Linked DNA regions of Homo sapiens: regions 1 and 2 are each linked to region 3. Evidence: promoter capture Hi-C in 16 types of primary human blood cells and fetal thymus (Javierre and others, 2016). All regions are on one chromosome and are shown on one strand. The core of a region is centred on a gene start or on the middle of the fragment in contact, and the rest is flanking DNA. Distances in the headings are between cores, read along the strand shown. Region 1 overlaps MARCHF4 (membrane associated ring-CH-type finger 4). Region 2 overlaps MARCHF4 (membrane associated ring-CH-type finger 4). Region 3 holds the start of MARCHF4 (membrane associated ring-CH-type finger 4).

Evidence for each region. The method cuts DNA at HindIII sites, captures the fragments that hold promoters and counts their contacts. A CHiCAGO score of 5 or more calls a contact.
Region 1: a contact is called between a fragment that was not itself captured here and the fragment with the promoter of MARCHF4 in region 3, in 1 of 17 cell types (endothelial precursors). The highest score is 5.9, in endothelial precursors.
Region 2: a fragment that was not itself captured here is called in contact with the fragment with the promoter of MARCHF4 in region 3 in 2 of 17 cell types (endothelial precursors and total CD8 T cells); the score reaches 7.4 in endothelial precursors.

What each region holds. Positions count from the first base shown.
Region 1 is chr2:216,286,293-216,289,280 of GRCh38, reverse strand. All of the region lies in intron 1 of MARCHF4 (membrane associated ring-CH-type finger 4), which reads left to right. Among named protein-coding and RNA genes, the nearest start is that of MARCHF4-AS1, 16 kb to the left of the region's middle. The HindIII fragment of the contact is 1,844 bases long and covers 673-2,516 here.
Region 2 is chr2:216,266,541-216,269,240 of GRCh38, reverse strand. The region is part of intron 3 of MARCHF4 (membrane associated ring-CH-type finger 4); the gene reads left to right. Among named protein-coding and RNA genes, the nearest start is that of MARCHF4-AS1, 35 kb to the left of the region's middle. The HindIII fragment of the contact is 2,099 bases long and covers 214-2,312 here.
Region 3 is chr2:216,371,068-216,373,900 of GRCh38, reverse strand. It overlaps MARCHF4 (membrane associated ring-CH-type finger 4), which reads left to right and starts at 1,418. Exons shown (of 4, transcript NM_020814.3): 1 at 1,418-2,833. The HindIII fragment of the contact is 3,541 bases long and covers 1,095-2,833 here.

The sequences.
Region 1 (2,988 bases), core at 345-2,844, 85 kb after region 3:
AAAAGGACTTTGAGTCTCTATGGGCAGCAACTTGGGTGGGGGGCGGGTGGGGAAGAAAACAAAGGGCAAAAGAACTTCAGTGAGTAAAGCTCGTTAATATAAATTCCTCTATTGCAGTAAGCCTTGCAGTGAGCTGAGATCGTGCCACTGCACTCCAGCCTGGGTGACAGAGCGAGACTCTGTCTCCAAAAAAAATAAATAAATAAAAATAAATATATATATATATATGTTTATATATATATAAATTTTTATATATTTTCATATATAGATATATATAAATTCCTCTGGTGTCATCTGGAGGCTGATGAGGGTCTAAAGCTGTCTTCAGTGTTTACCTTTGTTCTCCTGATGGAGAGGGAGAGGCAGGATAACTTTTGTCTTTGTAAATCTATGTCCTGCTTTTATGCAAATAGAGAAAGAGCAGAGAGCTCTCCTAAATCTGCTGCTTCTTAATTGTCTTAGCTCAACACGCCTTCGTATTTTGGGGAGGCATATTATTGTCTCCCACTGCAGTGAGCGGAATACATCTGTTCTCCCTCCCACCACCTCCATCACAACCAAGGCTAAAAGGGTCACCTCCTGCCTCCTGCCTCCTGCCTCTAGCACGACCCCACTTAACCCATGCAAGAGGCCTGCACTCTTCTTCTGTTTGGCATCCCCTGAAAAGAAGCTTCCCCAGATGCTCCCAGTGTCCCCAAGGTGACATAAGGAACAATCTTGGGCTAGAAGTCAGGGTCCCTTATCCATCCCAGGAGGGCAGAGTCTCTTAGAAAATTCTTTAATCTTTACTGCTCTTGGTGACTCAACTGACTCTTTTCTTTAGGCGGTCGTTCCCTTCCTTATCTATTTCACCTGTCTTAGAGTGACAGTAGGAAATAGAGTTGCAGAAGAAAAAACTATGAAATTAAAGTTCTTACAGAAATGTGAGTTAGAATTGTAATAGTTTAACAGGAGGACTTACTTGTGCCATGCACTGTGTCAAACTCTTGCATATATGATCTCATTTAACCCTTACAGGCCAGGCACAATGGCTCACGCCTGTAATCCCTACACTTTGGGAGGCTGAGGCCGGAGGATCATTTAAGCCTAGGAGTTTGAGATCAGCCTGGGCTACGTGGTGAAATCTCACCTCTACAAAAAGTACAATACATGTTGCTGGGCATGGTGGCATGTGCCTGTAGTCCCAGCTACTCAAGAGGCTGAGGTGGGAGGATCACTTGAGCCTGGGGAGCTCAAGGCTGCAGTGAGCCATGATCATGCTACTCTGCACCCCAGCCTGGGCAACAGAGTGAAATCGTGTCTCAAAGGAAAAAAAAAATCCTTACAATTACCCTTGAGGAGGTAAGAGTTACTTGCAACGGAAAGATGAAGAAATGGAGCCTCAGAGAGGTTAAGAGACTTGGCTAAATTTGCACAGCTGGTGAACAGACACTCAAAAACAAAGCGGCTGTTTCCCAAAACCATGTTCTTTTTTTTTTTTAATTTTATTATTATTATACTTTAAGTTTTAGGGTACATGTGCACAACCTGCAGGTTTGTTACATATGTATACGTGTGCCATGTTGGTGTACTGCACCCATTAACTCGTCGTTTAGCATTAGGTATATCTCCTAATGCTATCCCTCCCCCCTCCCCCCACCCCACAACAGTCCCGGGTGTGTGATGTTCCCCTTCCTGTGTCCACGTGTTCTCATTGGGAATTGAACAATGAAACCATGTTCTTCACCACTCCCCCACAGTGTGTCCCTTGGGGGCCAGATGATTAGAGAAGATCCCATTTTTCTTGTTTTAGTCATTCCCAGGGCAGTCTCTGGCCCCAGCACTCTGAGCAGATCATTGAGGAAGTGTCTGGTGCCCTTTGCATTTAATGAGTCCCTTTGATCTGTGGAGTTTGCTGAGCTCTGCAAACAAGATCACAGTAATCCTCCCAGCCCAAATGCTGGAGCCGCAGTAGCTGGACCAGAGGGGCTTTTCCTTTCCCATACCCTAGGGCCTGTTCAATTAGTAAGCACGCCTTAATTGTACATCGCTGATGTGCTCAGTTCTAGGGGGTATGTAGGAGCAGCTCTAATCCCAGAGCATTTGAAAATGGTGAAGTACCAAACTGTGGATGATGGTGGGAGACTTGGCTGAGGGTCTGAGCTGGGCCAGGAATTGGGGTGGGACCTGGAGAAGGGGAGACTTACAGGCACAGGTGCAGGTGGGGCAGCAGGATCCAGAGGATGGAAGGTGGATGAGCACAGCGGGTGGTGAAGCTCAGCGTCTGACGCCCGTGTGACCTTGAGTGAGTCATTTAACCTTTCTCCTCAATCAGAGATATCTCTTATATTGAGAGAATTTTACTAGGGTAGAGGGGGCGAGAATTCATCTCAGTGTCCATGTAGCTTTTAACAGAGCTTACTGCAAAGAGCGTCTTCCTAAGTTTAGCTTGAATCCATCTGGCTCATTTCCACTTCTGTTGTTCTTGGAGACATACAGGTCTGACCAGTAGTTGGCAAAGAGTCCCTGTGAAAGCTTTTTAGAAGCCCTAAACACTAAAAAGATGATGGGCTTTCCCCGAAATGTATATAGAAATACACTAAATCATAACCTACAAAATTTGCCTGAATGCAAGAGTTAAAATAGCTCGTTTCTCTGGATTCCACCCAACCCCCACAGCAAATACCCAATCATCACTTCCTTTTTCCTTTATCAAAGTTAAACTTTTCTAACAGTTTGTTGTCCTTGCTTTATTTTCTTCTTCTTCTTTTTTTTTTTTTTAGATGGAGTTGCACTCTGTCGCCCAGGCTGGCACTGCAACCTCTGCCTCTGCCTCCTTGGTTCAAGTAATTCTCCTGCCTCAGCCTCCCGAGTAGCTGGCGTTTTAGGAGCATGCCACCATGGCCAGCTAATTTTTATATTTTTTGTAGAGATGGGGTTTCGCCATGTTGGCCAGGCTGGTCTTGAACCCCTGACCTCAAGTGATTCACCTGCCTCGGCCTCCCAAAG
Region 2 (2,700 bases), core at 14-2,513, 100 kb after region 3:
TTTTTAACTCCACAGATGTAAGAGATTGGACATCAAATAGTCAACTCTGCAAAAATGAGGCTCTCTTCTTCATCATGTTTGTTTTTAACTTGTGATTGATATGGGGTCAGGGGAAGGAAGGAAAGGAATGTTCCTGAGATTATTTCCAAAGCTTTAAAACAGTAGAATATGGTAATCAGCAAAATTATAGAAAGTTTTGTTTTTTTTTAAGCTTCCTCTGTGTGTGGTCCCCTGAGGTTCTTTTCAGTGATTTAAAGATGCCTGGCCCCTGTCCTCTGAGATGAAGGAATTTAAATCTCATTTTATAGCAAATAGGCAGAGGATGGGGGCAGCAGGATTGTACAAACATTTTTCTTTCAAACCTAATTTTAACCCACGTTAACTACAAAACATACATATGCCACAAAAATTCCTTCCTCTCCTCCTAGCTAGAAATGACTCTACCTGTAAAACCTTTTAATTTCCTGATTAGGAAACTTGGAACATTTGTTGGAGGCAGCCTAGTGCAGTACGAGAAACTAGGAAGCAGATCTAGGTCTGAAGACCAGAATAGCTACTATATTAGTCCATTTTCACACTGCTATAAAGGACTTCCCTGATACTGGGTAATTTATAAAGGAAAGAGATTTAATTGACTCAGTTCCACATGGCTTGGGAGGCCCCAGGAAACTTACAATCATGGCAGAAGTGGAAGGAGGCACCTTCTTCACAAGGCAGCAGGAGAGAGAAGAATGAAGGAGGAACTTCCAAACACAGATCTTGTGAGAATTCACTCACTATCACAAGAACAGCATGGGGGAAACCGCCTCCATGATCCAATCACCTCCCTCCCTTGACATGTAGGGATTATAGGTCCCTTTCTTGATACACGGGGATTACAATTCAAGATGAGACTTGGGTGGGAACACACAGCCAAACCATATCGGCTACTAATCACCTCTATGGCCTTGGACAAGTTACTCCCTCTCTCTACAGTTAGTTCCTCATCTATAAATGAGAGGGGTGAAACCGACAACCTCCAGGTTCCTTCCAGGTCTGACATCCCAGGATTTTGATGTCACCTCCACACTGAGATGCCAGGGCTTGCAAAGGCTGACACTTGTGACCGTGGGGCATCCCCAGCAATATTGGGCTGGGCCACAAAACTGACATGAGAAGCAGCAGCTGTAGAAACTGGCGAGATGATGCCCATCCACGTTCTGTTACTTGCATGTAGCTTATCTGGTTTTCTAGATTCCGTGTTAACTCCTTCCCACCCACCCGGGGCCTCCTGTGACGGCCACCAATCTCCACAGCCAAGTGGCTGGTTGCTTAGAGATGAAGATGACTGATTTAGAAGCAGATGCACTGTCCTTTTCCAAAGAGACCCCTCGAGAGGCATTTCATTTATCCCAGTTGTTCTGACAAAGCTCAACATATTTTAGGAATATTTCTTGGGAACTGTCTTTGGCACAGAACAGATTCAGGAGTGGCCTGTCTGTTGGCAGTGGGTTTGTGACTAGAAATAGCCCCAATTTGATAAATAAGGTGGAAGCTCAAGCCAGCTAATACATTTTGGGGACAATATGAAACACGCCATCAAGCCACAAACTTCTTTTCTTGTGTGGTCCCTAACCTAGAGCTATAGGTATGTTAGTTAGGGTAACTTCAGCAGATAGAAAAAAATAAGCCCCTATGTGTCAGTGGTTTAACCCAATAGAAGTTCCTGAGCAGTAGGAGATTCTCTTCCACACAGCAATTTGGAGTCCCAAACTCCTTCCATCTCTGGGCTCCACAGGCCCCTTGGGCTGCTGAGTCTTTTGCCTCCAGCTAATAGAAAATTAAACAGAGCATGAAGAAGTCGTCTTCTGCCCCAGCCTTGCACAAGTTTTCTCTCAATACCCATTTCTTTTTTCTTTGTTTTTATTTTTATTGGGCAAACCTCATTCTATAAAATCAAATGGAATGAGTGTTCCCTAGACCCATTTCTTAAATGCTGGCCTGGCTTGTGGTCACATTCAGTACTAGTCACCTGGTCTCACCTTGGTGCAAAAAGCTAGAAAATGTAACTTCTCAGTGGCAACTTTATACCAAGGAAAGGGAGTGTGGATTTTAGTGGACCGTTAGCCATCTCTGTCACAGAAGGCCAACCCCACTGAGCAATTTCCAGAAATGTTCTGAACTGGGATAGCCCAATAGGAGTAAATACCCTATTTCCAAAGGGCAATCCTTGGGATTTTAAAAGACAAAACTCTGATTCGATATAGAAAGGTGTTGGCATGTTTACTTAAATAAACTACTTTTGTAACTTTATGGTAACTTTATAATAAGCTTTGTAATTTTATAATAGCTCATGTGACGTGTAGCCTGGCCATACCTGTGTCCAGTATAAAGCTGCACCCTGGAGAATACTGGGCAGGCAGTGATGTTGTCAACCTGGCCTTTCCCAGCAGTACCCCCTGAACTCACCCAAAATAGCCGGTTATATTCATTTCTTTCAACCGTTCCCTGATATGTGCTTTGGTCCAGGTTCTTAACAGGGCTGGGCACTGGAGGAGTGGAATCTGGAAGATGGGTGGTTGGCAATGGTAGGGCTTCAGAGTGAGACACTACTAAGCCTCACCCCATAGCTGTCTGACAGTGGGGAATTCTGCAGGGAAGGAGAGTGCCTCTCTGTGGTTGGAGAGGAGGCACCAGTATGAGAATCATTTGGTCTCTAGA
Region 3 (2,833 bases), core at 169-2,668:
TATTAGTATCATCTTTAAATGAGCACCTTGGGCTGGGTCTCAGCATCCATGGTGAGTCCTGGGGCATGATTCAGACAAGTAGCCATGCTGGGTTAACCAAGACTGAGATGTAGGTCCTTTCTCCTTAGAGCTTGTAGGAATGAATCATTTCATAGAGATGGCAGCAAAGGGGTAGTTTTCTTATGACTCATTGGACTGAACTTCGTTCCAATGATATTTTGCTGCAGAAATTTTGCATGCTACTCTGTCTATGGCTCCAATATTTGTAAAGGCATTACCATGGCTGTTTGGATGAATCACTGGCATATCTTCTCTATGGCCCTAGAGGGGTGTGTGTGTGTGTGTGTGTGTGTGTGTGAGAGAGAGAGAGAGAGAGAGAGAGCGGGGTGGGGGAGAGAGGTTTATAAGGAAAGGCAAAAAAAGCAATCCTAAGTTTTCAGTGACCAAAGTCTACAGCTGCAAACACTGAGGTTTTATATAGACCACTTTAAGTTTCCTTCTTTTTCTTGCTCTTCACATTTAGGGGCACTTTGCTGCTCAAGAAACTCCTTGAGAAAAATAGGGTAGGGTGACATGAGTCAGTAGCAGAAATAGGAGAGGAAATTAAAATCCATTTCAAATTACCTCTTGTCAGCGGCTCAGTGAAAGGCTTGAATAGGGAGGAGGCTGGGGATGTTGGTGAAGACGAAGCTGAAATATTGCTCTGGATTCTTATGACTCACAATTGAAAGAGCACTGTGACTTATAGTAATGATGACTGTGGTGATGGTGGCCACAAGCCATTCAACAAATATGCATTGAACATTTACTAGATGCCATCTCTGACTTAGGCACACGGGATCAAATGAATTAAAAAAATTATCTCTGTCAATTGGAGCTTAAATTCTAGGCGAAGAAGCTGACAAAAAAATGGTACTAGCAACCTCCTCCCTGTTTGAAAATTTGAAGCATTTCCTTCTCATGTCTCAAGCCTCAATGAAACATTTCCTTCTCATGTCTCATGTCTCAAGCATTTCCTTAGTCATGAGGAATTTAATCTCCATCAAGTCCCAGCTTCATTGTGGAAGTCACAAAACTTTATCTCCTCGAAAGCTTGCAGACTGAGATCTACTTTAAATGTTTATGTGAACAGAGAAACGGTCTCTGGTTGACAGGTGTCTGTGTCTTGTATGTGCAATGAGAGGAGCTGTGATAGTGGACAGTGGGCAGAGAGTCTACAACCAGACCTTCCACACCGACACGTTCCTGCTGAGGTGAAATGCAAGAGTTAGTGCCTGAATCGCTCCCCTCCCTCCCCGTGGCCTTTCTCCTTCTTTCTTTTACTCTTCACTTCGCTCCCTCCTCCTTCCCTTCCTAAATCCCTCCCTCTCCTGGTTACCTCCCTTTCCCTTGGTCCCTCCCCATCCCCTTCCCTCGCACAGTTCTCTCCTCCTCTTGCTCCCTCTCCCTCCAGCTTCTTTTCCTCTCATCCCCTTTCCCTCCTCCATCCCTCCGCGGCGTCTGCGTCAGGCCCCCACGAGCGTGACGCGCGGGGTCTGGGTGGGAGCTGTCCACTCGCCCGGGGTGCTGAATGCAGCAGCGGCGGCCGCGGCGCCGGCGGCGGAGATAGCCGAGAGCCTCCCTCGCTGCAAGAACCTTGTTTCCAGTTCTCGGACGGTCAGCTCGCCGCCCCGCCACCTCCCTTCCAGCACCACCCCTTTGGGAATCGAGCCAGTGGGGGCAGCGGCGGGTGCTGAGCAACGGCGGAAGACGAGACAACACCTGGCAGCAGCCTGGAATCTGATTTGCTTCCTCTCGGCTTTTATAAGAGATATATTTATATACGGTTTTGGGGAGTCGCGAGGACCAAGCTGGAGCCAAGTGCCGGCTGCCTCCCACCTCGGCCACACTGCTTCGCTCCCCCCTCCCCACCTTCAGCTGGCACCGCAAACAAGCCTTACCTCGTTGCATCTGCGAGGAGAGGTAGCAACAGCGAGCCTAGCCAGCCAGAGGCGGTGGAGAGGAGGAAGGGGCGGGGTGGGGGGGCAGAGAGCGGGCCGAGGCCGCCCTTGGTGGGGGTAGCGGGGGCAGAGCTGCCGAGCAGACCCGGCAGCCGCCCTCCTCCGCCCCCACCCTCCAGAAGCACTCTTGCCTGAGAACCGAATTATTCCACTAGTATTATTTCATTTTTTATTACTCCCCCTCCTCACTCCCCAGCCGCCCCCACCCCCACGCCGGCCTCGCCTCTGGTTGCATGGCAGCGCTGCCCGGGCGCGGGGGCTCAGGGCTGGCCCCCAGGGAAGGGGGAGGAGGAGGAGGATCATGAAGGCCGGAGTCGCGACCGCGCCGGACGGCGGGCAGCAGCCAGAGGACGAGCCGGAGCAGCCCCCGCCCCGGAGACACCCGGACGCCGAGCAGCAGTCGCCTCCGCCGCCGCAGCAGCAGCTGCGGGCGCGGGCCGACCCGGAGCCGGAGGAGGAGGGCGACCGCGACCCAGAGGAGGAAGAGGAGGAGAAGGCGAGGCCACTCGCCCGCCCGGACCTGCCCTTCTCTCGGCTCTTGCCCCTCGACCGAAGGGACCTTTGATGGAACCGAGGGGAGGGCGCCACGGATTTGCCGACTGCAGCAGGGGTGGGCTGGGGGCTGAGATAATGTAACCACTCCTTTCTCCTGTTCTCTCCCACACGCCCCTCTCCTCTACCCCTATTCTCTGCTCCACTGCCCTCTCACCCCGGTACACACACCCTTCCTCTAGCCAGGATCTTCATGCTCAGGAAGGAGGCGCCTCTGCAAGGGTTAAACGATCTTTTCTTTTTCTCCCATCCTTTTTCCTTCCCAAACCTCTATTTTACCT